2 separate regions of the Homo sapiens genome follow, and region 2 is linked to region 1. The links are contacts of gene promoters, found by promoter capture Hi-C in human tissues and cell types (Jung and others, 2019). All regions are on one chromosome and are shown on one strand. The core of a region is centred on a gene start or on the middle of the fragment in contact, and the rest is flanking DNA. Distances in the headings are between cores, read along the strand shown. Region 1 holds the start of FICD (FIC domain protein adenylyltransferase). Region 2 has its middle 160 kb from the start of ASCL4.

The links. Contacts are between HindIII fragments. The study calls those that stand out against the background at their distance.
Region 2: a fragment that was not itself captured here is called in contact with the fragment with the promoter of FICD in region 1 in 1 of the 25 tissues and cell types used here (lymphoblastoid cells).

Annotation. Positions count from the first base shown.
Region 1 is chr12:108,513,126-108,517,877 of GRCh38, forward strand. It overlaps FICD (FIC domain protein adenylyltransferase), which reads left to right and starts at 2,152. Exons shown (of 3, transcript NM_007076.3): 1 at 2,152-2,236; 2 at 3,790-4,148. The coding sequence starts at 3,848. RefSeq lists a silencer at 1-127 and enhancers at 1,624-1,683, 3,586-4,086, 3,775-3,874, 4,087-4,587. The HindIII fragment of the contact is 17,239 bases long and covers 1-4,752 here.
Region 2 is chr12:107,933,053-107,937,236 of GRCh38, forward strand. No RefSeq gene overlaps it. Among named protein-coding and RNA genes, the nearest start is that of ASCL4, 160 kb to the left of the region's middle. The HindIII fragment of the contact is 5,919 bases long and covers 1-4,184 here.

The sequences.
Region 1 (4,752 bases), core at 902-3,401:
AGGAGGCTGACGCAGGAGAATCGCTTGAACCCAGAAGGTAGAGATTGCAGTGAGCCAAGATCACACCACTGCACTCCAGCCTGGGTGACAGAGCAAGACTCTGTCTCAAAAACAAACAAACAAACAAAAAAACAATTAGCCTGTGTGTGCCTGTAGTCCCAGCTACTAGGGAAGCTGAGATGGGAGGATCACTTAAACCCAGGACATGGAGGTTGCAGTGAGCCAAGATCATGCCACTGCACTCCAGCCTGGGCAACAGAGTGAGATCCTATTTCAAAAAAGATAGATAGGTGATAGATAGATAGATAGATAGATAGATAGATAGATAGATAGATAGTTTGCTCTGTGCCAGATGTATAGAATCTCATTTCACCCTCACATAAAACCTTGTGAAGTGGTAATATCATCACACTGTGCACAGTTTACAGAAAAGCCTAGACAGATGATCAACAAGATCAAGTCACTTGCTGAATGTGATTCAGTTTGCAAGGGGCAGAACTGGGATTTGAACCCAGGTCTGTGTGACTCCCAACAGTGACACCCCACAACCACCACCTAGCCCTGCCTCCAAGAGCAATACACGTCACAGAGGAGGTCAGATCTTGAAGCATCAAGCCTTCTGCAAATCCTGAACTGGATGCCAAAAGCAAGGTAGGCTGTTTGTCCCCATTTTACAAGTGGGGAAAGTGAGGCTAGGAGTAACGTGCCCAAGGTGACACGGAGAGTAAATGGCAAAGTCTGAATTTGAGCTCAGGTCTCTTTGACTCCCCAGAATCTGAACTGCTAACTTCTAAATGCTTAGCGTTTCTGGGGCACCTCCCTAGATGTTTAATTTCAGTATTTGTGGATTAAGATGGAGGTTTCCATTCTCTGCTTCAAGGAAAAAATTTCTCTCTGGGAAGCCAAAAGAACTAGCCAGGTCCTTCTGGAGAGGATACAAATTAAAAAGTCAGGGAGAACCGAGGGGGTGGCTTGCGCCTGTAATCTTAGCGCTTTGGGAAGCCGAGATGGAGGGAGAGCTTAAGGTCAAGAGTTCGAGACCAGCCCGGGCGACATAGTGAGACCCGGTCTCTAAAGAAAATAAAAAATCAGAAATAGGTCGGGCGCGATGGCTCACGCCTGTAATCCCAGCACTTTGGGAGGCCGAGGCAGGCGAATCTTCTGAGGTCAGGAGTTCGAGACCAGCCTGGCCAACGTGGTGAAACCCCATCTCTACTAAAAATACACAAATTAGGCGGGCGTGGTGATGCGCGCCTGTAATCCCAGCTACTCGGGAGGCTGAGGCAGGAGAATCGCTTCAACCTGGGAGGCGGAGGTTGCAGTGGGCCAAGATCGTGCCACTTCCCTCCAGCCTGGGCAACAGAGTGCGATTCCGTCTCAAAAAAAAAGAAAGAAAGCAAGACAGAGAGAGAGAAAAAAAAAGAAAGAAAGAAAGAAAAGAAAAGAAAAGAAAATTCGCCGGGCATGGTGGCATGCACCTGTAGTCCCAGCTACTCGGGAGGCTGAGATGGGAGGATTGCTTGAGCCCAGGAGGTGGAGGCTGCAGTGAGCTGCAATTGCTCCACCGCACTCCAGCCTGGGCGACACAACGAGACCCTGTATTTTATAAGAAAAAAAAAAGTTGTTTAAGTCAGGGAGGAAAAGACACAGAGAGGAAAAGAGTAAAGAAGAAGAAGGCGGCAAACTCAGCAGCATGGGGTGGAGGCTAAGAACAGGGGCTGCGCAGTCAAGCAGGCTAACCGGGTGAAGGGGTGAAAAGCATCAGCATCTTCATTTCACAACCGGGAAAAATGAGGCACACGACAGCGGCTCCGGGACGAAGAGACCCGAGGAAAAGACCGCCGTGGAACTTCCAGTTTCCGGGCCCGCCACCTAGTGTGCCCCAAATCCGCACGCCCATCGGGTTTCCAGCACCTGCTCCTCCTGCCTGTGGCCTAGGCCCCGCCCCTCCCGCTGCTTATTGGCTGCTACGTGAACGAGACAAACGCAAGCAACAACCAATGGGAGTGGCCCACGGCGCGTCTTTCCCGGGGAAGCCGACGCGGACGCGGGAACCCGGAAATGCGAGGGAAGGACAAGTGGGGAAAGCCAATCCGCCGCGACGAGGGCTGCGGGCGGTTCAATGGCAAGTCGCCGGGGGCGGGGCCAGAGGCCGGCGGAGAAGGAGGACCCGGGAGCCGGCGGCCCGGAGCTGGGAGCGCGGGGAAGGCGGTTGGGGTTCTGACAGCTGCGCGCGGTGAGAAGGGGAAAAGCCCTAGGGGCTCGAGAGGATGAAGCCGGGAAGGGTGCGACGGGGCCGCGAGCCCTGGGCGGGGTTCGGGAAGGGAGGCTCTGCAGTCTTGGAGGGGACTCAGACCGGTCCCCTCCCCTCTCCGGGCCTCAGTTCTCCCTTTCTAGGGAAGTGTGGGGGAGAGATTCGCGCCTCCCAGAACGCACTCCTTCCCTGCACACACCCCTGGCACCGGCGAACTGCCCCCTTTCCTGTACCGCCCCGCCCAGGAGCCTGTCCCCTCGGGAAGCCCGCCCAGACCCCTGGACCCGCGCAGCACTCCAGGCGCACCCCTATTAAAGCGCACCCCAAGCCATTTCACATGTTCTGTGGCAATGGGCCAGGATCCCCATGAGACTCAGAACCCCGTGATCCATCAGTCATTCCCGGGTCAGGACCAGCCCAGAGCAGGTGCACAGGCCCTGCTTAGTAATAAGGTAGAAATCGAGACCTGGGGACCGGGTTCAGAGGCCCTGGGGTTTCCTTCCGGATGCCTCTGTTTACCTCCTGTGGGCCTTCTGGAATTTAACTTATGCTCTCTGTGTCTTGGTTTCCCTTGTCTGTAAAATGGAGCTAGCGGTAGCTCTTCCTTCATAGGGTGGCATGAGGGTGAAACGAGGCAATGCGTGGCCAGTACACTGCTCAGCACCTAGGACACCATAGTTGCTTAATAAGTGCTTATTGTTAGCATAGTGTTTGCATGCCTGGCCCCACCTCCACTCCCACTGCCAGCCCCAAGCACATACAAGCCATGTTGTCACTGAGGCCAAGCACTGTGGCCCACAGCCTGAGTTCCTTTCGAGATGCTCGAACTGCTCATCTTCTTGATGGGGTCCCTTCTGGACAGGCCAGAAATGGAAGGCCAGAGAGGGGAAGGGCACTGTGGGAGCTGTGGCTGAATATCAGGGTGAGGGCAATAAATGAGGCCACCCAACAATTGTGCTTATCAAAGATTGGGCGTCAGAACTGCTGTGGCTGATCTGCCTGGGTGTCTGTCAGTCATTTATGTCCCAAATGTTTGACATATGTCCACAAATCCAGTGTTTGTGGTCAGAAGCCACAGGGATATATGGGAAGGGGGGACACTTTAGAGCCGTGGGGTTCCTGAGTTCAAGTCCTAAGGCTGTCACTTGCTCCCGGCGAGACTTTCGGCAAGGGACTTCACCTCTCTGAACCTCAGTTCCCTCACCTGGAGAAGGGTGAAAACATCAGCTCAAGTCGTTGAAGATTGCAGGAGGTGACCCATGTGAGGCATTTGGTGCTTAGCACACGGCCTGGATTATGGCAAGTGCTCATTAATTGTTGGACCACAGCAGTGTTTTCACATTCATACTGCCCAGGAGGTGGCACCAGTCCTTCTAGGCTGGCCCCTCCTCTAGTGAGATCCAGTCCTTGACTTGCCCCCACCCCATCTCTCTAGTGAGCTAAAAGAGCAGAAGTCTCCAAACCCATCTTCCCAGCTGAAGTCACACTATGTCCTGAACGTGTCTGTTTCTCCTGCGACTCTTGGCTCCTTGCAGATCCTGCTCTCTCTCAGCCGCCTGTGGACATGCGCAAAGGGCCCTCTCCTGAGTCCAGATGATGCTCATACCAATGGCTTCAGTGATGGCGGTGACTGAACCGAAATGGGTCTCGGTCTGGAGCCGCTTCCTCTGGGTGACGCTGCTGAGCATGGTGCTGGGGTCCCTGCTGGCCCTGCTGCTGCCGCTGGGGGCTGTGGAGGAGCAGTGCTTGGCTGTGCTCAAAGGCCTCTACCTGCTCAGGAGCAAACCGGACAGGGCGCAGCATGCCGCCACCAAGTGCACCAGCCCGTCCACGGAGCTCAGCATCACCTCCAGGGGCGCGACGCTGCTGGTGGCCAAGACCAAGGCCTCTCCAGGTAAGACAGACTGGCCGTCTTCCTCAATGCTTGTTAACTGGATAGACAGACATAGAATGTGTCATGTCCTGTATGTGGGGCATCGGGGTATTGTGAACAAGTCAGCCCTGAGCTCCTAGTATAGACAAGGTGATGTGACTGAGACAGTGTCACAAGTGTGGTGATGGGGAAGCATAAAGGGCTGTAGGAGCATACCAGGAAGGCTCCCTGGAGGAAGTGACACCTGAGCTGGGACCCAGTTGTTAAGTAGGAGTCATCCAGGGTGAAGGGCATCCAAGGAAAAGGACTCCAGGCAGAGACCAGAGGTTAGTTGTCATAACTGACATAACTGTCGTAAGAGAGCCTGGGGGCATTCGAGGAACTAAAGGAAGTTGAATGTGTGGGGCTGATCCTCAGGTGGCCAAGAGGGGCCAGGACAGGAGGGCTAGGGCTAGAGCAGGCTCCCCACCTCCACCAGTTCTCTGTGGTGGGGACTGAAAGTGCATTGTTAGATGGTGGTGGCATCCCTGGCCTCTCCCCATGAGATGCCTGTAGCACTCCCTCCACCTCCTCAGTTATGACAACTAACCAGGTCTCCAGACGTCACCAAATGTCCCCTGGGGCG
Region 2 (4,184 bases), core at 373-2,872, 580 kb before region 1:
AGAAATATGCTTGCATGGCTTGGCTCGCCCTCTTGTGCTTCTATCATTTGCCATGAGAAGAACATGCTCTTGGTATCTGATGGCCTTGGAATAAGTAGACCCATGGAGCAGATCTGAGCCCAGCTGGCAGCCTGACCAAGATCTGCTGAACCCAATAGCACCAAAGACCTCCTACAAATCCTCAAGCAAAGAAATAAATGCTTGCTCCTGTAGCCACTGAGGTTTTGAGGTTGTAATGCAGTAAAAACTAACTCCTGCCCCCAGATTATAATGGGTGCAGGGAGATGAAGTTACTGGATTGGGTTGCCTCAGAGGAGCTGTGGCCTTCAAGCGGGGAAGTCAACAGCTCATCCACACTCCCTTCCCCTCCTTCTGTCTCCTCTTGGTGCTTCCCATTGGCTGAACTCAACTAGAAGTGGAGAGGAAGGGAGTCAATTAGAGAACCACTGAAGACCAGCTCCCTGGGGCACAGCACATGGTAGGGAAGGATGGAGAGTGGATGTGGAAGGGCAAACGGGAATTATCTTGTATTAGTCCATTCTTGCATTGCTGTAAAGAAATACCTGATACTGGGTAATTTATAAAAAAAATTATCATTTAATTGGCTCACAGTTACATAGGCTGTACAGGAATCATGGTGGCATCTGCTTCTGGGGCAGCTCCAGGAAATAATCATGGTGGAAGGTGAAGGGGAAGCAGGCATGTCTTACATTGCCAAAGCAGGAGCAAGAGGGAGAGTGGGGAGGTACCACACACTTTTAAACAACCAGATCTCATGAGAACTCACTCACTCACTCACTATCAGGAGAATAGCATTGAGCAGATAGTGCTAACTCATTCATGAGAACTCTGCCCTCATGATCCAGTCACCTCTCATTAGGTCCCACCTCCAACACTGGGTATTACAATTTGACATGAGATTTGGGTGGGGACACAGATCCAAATCATATCATATCCAGTGCAATTAAGGGGGAAGGAGGGTTATGTTGGACTCACATATTAACAAATAACTGTTCTAAGACCTTTGCCCAGGGGCTCCATCTATGGCCCTTTGGGCATCTTCTTCCCAACTCTTTCTTGGCCTCCTGGATTTCCCTTGTTCTGCGTGGTCACCAGGAACATTCTTTGGGATGTGAAGCTCAGTGAAGTTAGCCAAGAGGGCTTCCTTGAAGAACCCAATTATTTCAGAATTTTTGCCCTTCTTAATCCATCAGCCACATTTTGGAAGTGTTTCCAAAATTGTCATGGCTGAGAGAGAGATTCGGGGAATATTTTCTTCTGTCTGTTCCCGTTACTTTTTCCTCCTGTTGGCTCCCAACATCTTTAGCGAAACCATATGTTCTAGGGTATCATTCACAGGAGTCCCAGCTCCATCCTGTGCACTCCAATTTTTTTGCTAGTCAAAAAAATTTGACTTTGACAGGAACACTTTAGCACAAAAGTGCAGAGAAAGAGTTTTGAAATCAGATCTAAGTTATAAAGGTCAACTTATCTTCTTAGCAGCTGTGTGACCTTGAACAGAGGACCTGACCTTATTCCTGAGCCAGCAGAGATCATTTTAGCACCAGATCCTAGAGCAACTTTTGAGAATTAAATGGGATATCCATGAATGCCCTTAGCATAGTACTTTGTTAATGCTTAATAAATTCATTACTATACACTTCCTAAGTGAGGTCAGGGGTAAGACTGACTCTAGAATGGGGTGGCACCTAATGCTGTAGCTGATGCCACAGCACTCAGCCACCCACCCCTGGTATTTGGCAGGCTATGCACAGTTCTTCTGTCAGTGGAATTCCATTAGATCTTGGAAAAACAAAATTCTTCTTTCCAGGCAGGTAGAAACTGAGGCATCTCTCAGCCTTCCAGGGCTCCGGGCTGTACGGGGAAGGAGATTTCTCTTTGGATCACCCTGCTGGTGGTCCCTCTTCTGGTGCCATCCACCAATTAAGCAGCCATTCATTTCACTCCATTCTGGAGAAACAAGAGTTTGCCAAACCCTGTAATATCCTGGGATTTGTGAATTATTAAATCTAAATATAGATTTATATGTCTCAATTCAATGGTGAATTTGGGTCAGCCTAACTCTTGTAGATAAGTGATATGTACAATATACGATGATTACAGAAGAAAAGTAGAGATGATTTCAGGAAGCTATTCAAATGCGAGAGAAGCTATTATCTGTTTCCACTGTCACCTACCTCATGCCCAACCCTATTCACCACCAATCTAGCTGCTCATTCATCCCTCCCCCCAACCACCTTCCTCGTTTCTCACCTACTACACATCCCATCCTCCATCCATCCATTCTTCCATCTACCTCATTCCCCTTCAAGCCCATATACCCACCTATCCATCCATTTACCCACCCACCTATCAACTATGAAACCTTTATTCCATTCACTCCTCCACCTGCTCCATCTGCCATCTTCCCATTCACTACTCACCACCCAACCTCACAGCCACCCATGCATCCATTGCACATTCATCTATCCATTCCCTCACTACTCACCTACCCAATCTATCACCCCATGTCATCCATCTATCCACTAACCACCCATCCTAGCCCCAATCCTATCCATTCACCATCCACCAACCATTTCCTACACAGGCACCCACCCTATTCATCCATCCATCCAAACATTCAGCATGCACCCAGTTCATCCCTCCATTTAGCAAATATTTATTAATTACCCATATGTGCCAGGGATTATGCTATGGACTTGGCACACACATGCCTAAGAAATGACTTTTTTCCCAAGAACTTCTATACCCAGTGTGAATGAGATATACTCTGAAACAAAAAGACAAAATAGCCATTAAGTTTTAATAAGACATGACAAACACGAGGCAGCATCTTGCAGTGATTACGTGTGCATGCTTTGAAGCCAGACCTATTTGACTTTGATTTGGGCTTTGCCATTTGATAGATTGATTTCCTCATATCAATCACAGCACTTTGTTAAACCTGTTTCCCCACCTGCTAAACAGGAATAATAATTGCATTTACTTCAGAAGATCATGGTGAACCCTAAACAAGTTAGTGTTAAGTAAGTTAACACATTGTGAGAAGGGCCCATTCACAAGGAACAGTGGACGCCCTCTACCAACCTAGAGTGGCCCAGCTGACAACTGACAAGACAATGGGAACCTCAGTCTTAAACTGCAGGAACTGAATTCTTCCAGCAAACACATGGACTTGGAAGGGGACCCTGGGCTCAGAAGAGAGCCTGCTAACACTTCAATGCAGTGTTGTGGGATCTTGAGAAGAAGACCCAGCAAAACCACACCTAGACTTCTGACTCATGGCAACTGTGAGATAACAATTGTGTGTTGTTTTAAGCCACTTAGTTTGAAGTAATTTGTTATGTGGCAATAGATAACTAAGACATGGAGTTACTCGCCCAAGGCTGCATAACTCCTCAGTGATAGAACCTGGATTCAGAACAAAAGCGAACCACCACACCTCCTGAAAGATAATGAGCCAGAGGGGCTAAAATGCCAAAGATTTTCTGATTAGCACTCAGCTGACCAGAAAATTAATTAATCAGAATCTCTACTTCCTTGGACCTTATGATTAGTCAGGGATTTTCTGCATTTGAAATCAAGTTTTCCACGGTGATTGCACCAAATACCATGGCTGCCCTGATGCTGCTGTACAAGTGCAGCAACTGTAGAGTTGGGGGAAGAAAGTTCCACTTTGGATGTGATCCAAAGGTCTGATTCAGAACACCTAAGTGTTTCCATTTTGAAAATGTGATGAGCATTGCTTACTGAGAAGTAGCCATCTGGTTTCATGCCTCTGCTGCATTCCCCCCCCATTGGACCACATGGGCTGAAGAAATTAGATCTGTGGACATAAGACTTACTCATTTTAAATATAGAGAATGATTCCATGGGGGCAGTGGTCTACTAATCAGACAGCCACGACCACCACTACTACCAAAATGACAATAGCAGCTCACAGTCATTCAGAGCTTTCCTGAGCCTGATGCAGAGCCCAGCTGTGAGACCTATGGGTTACCCAGGCAGGCTCATAATTTGGCACTCTTTTTATCGTTATGTTTTAATATTTATTCATCATCTATCTGTTGGGTGTCAGGAAAACTCAGTTACTGTTAATAAAATTGTATGCTTTTTTCTAACTCCAAATGTGGATCAGGTGTTTCACTCACAGTAGGAATGGA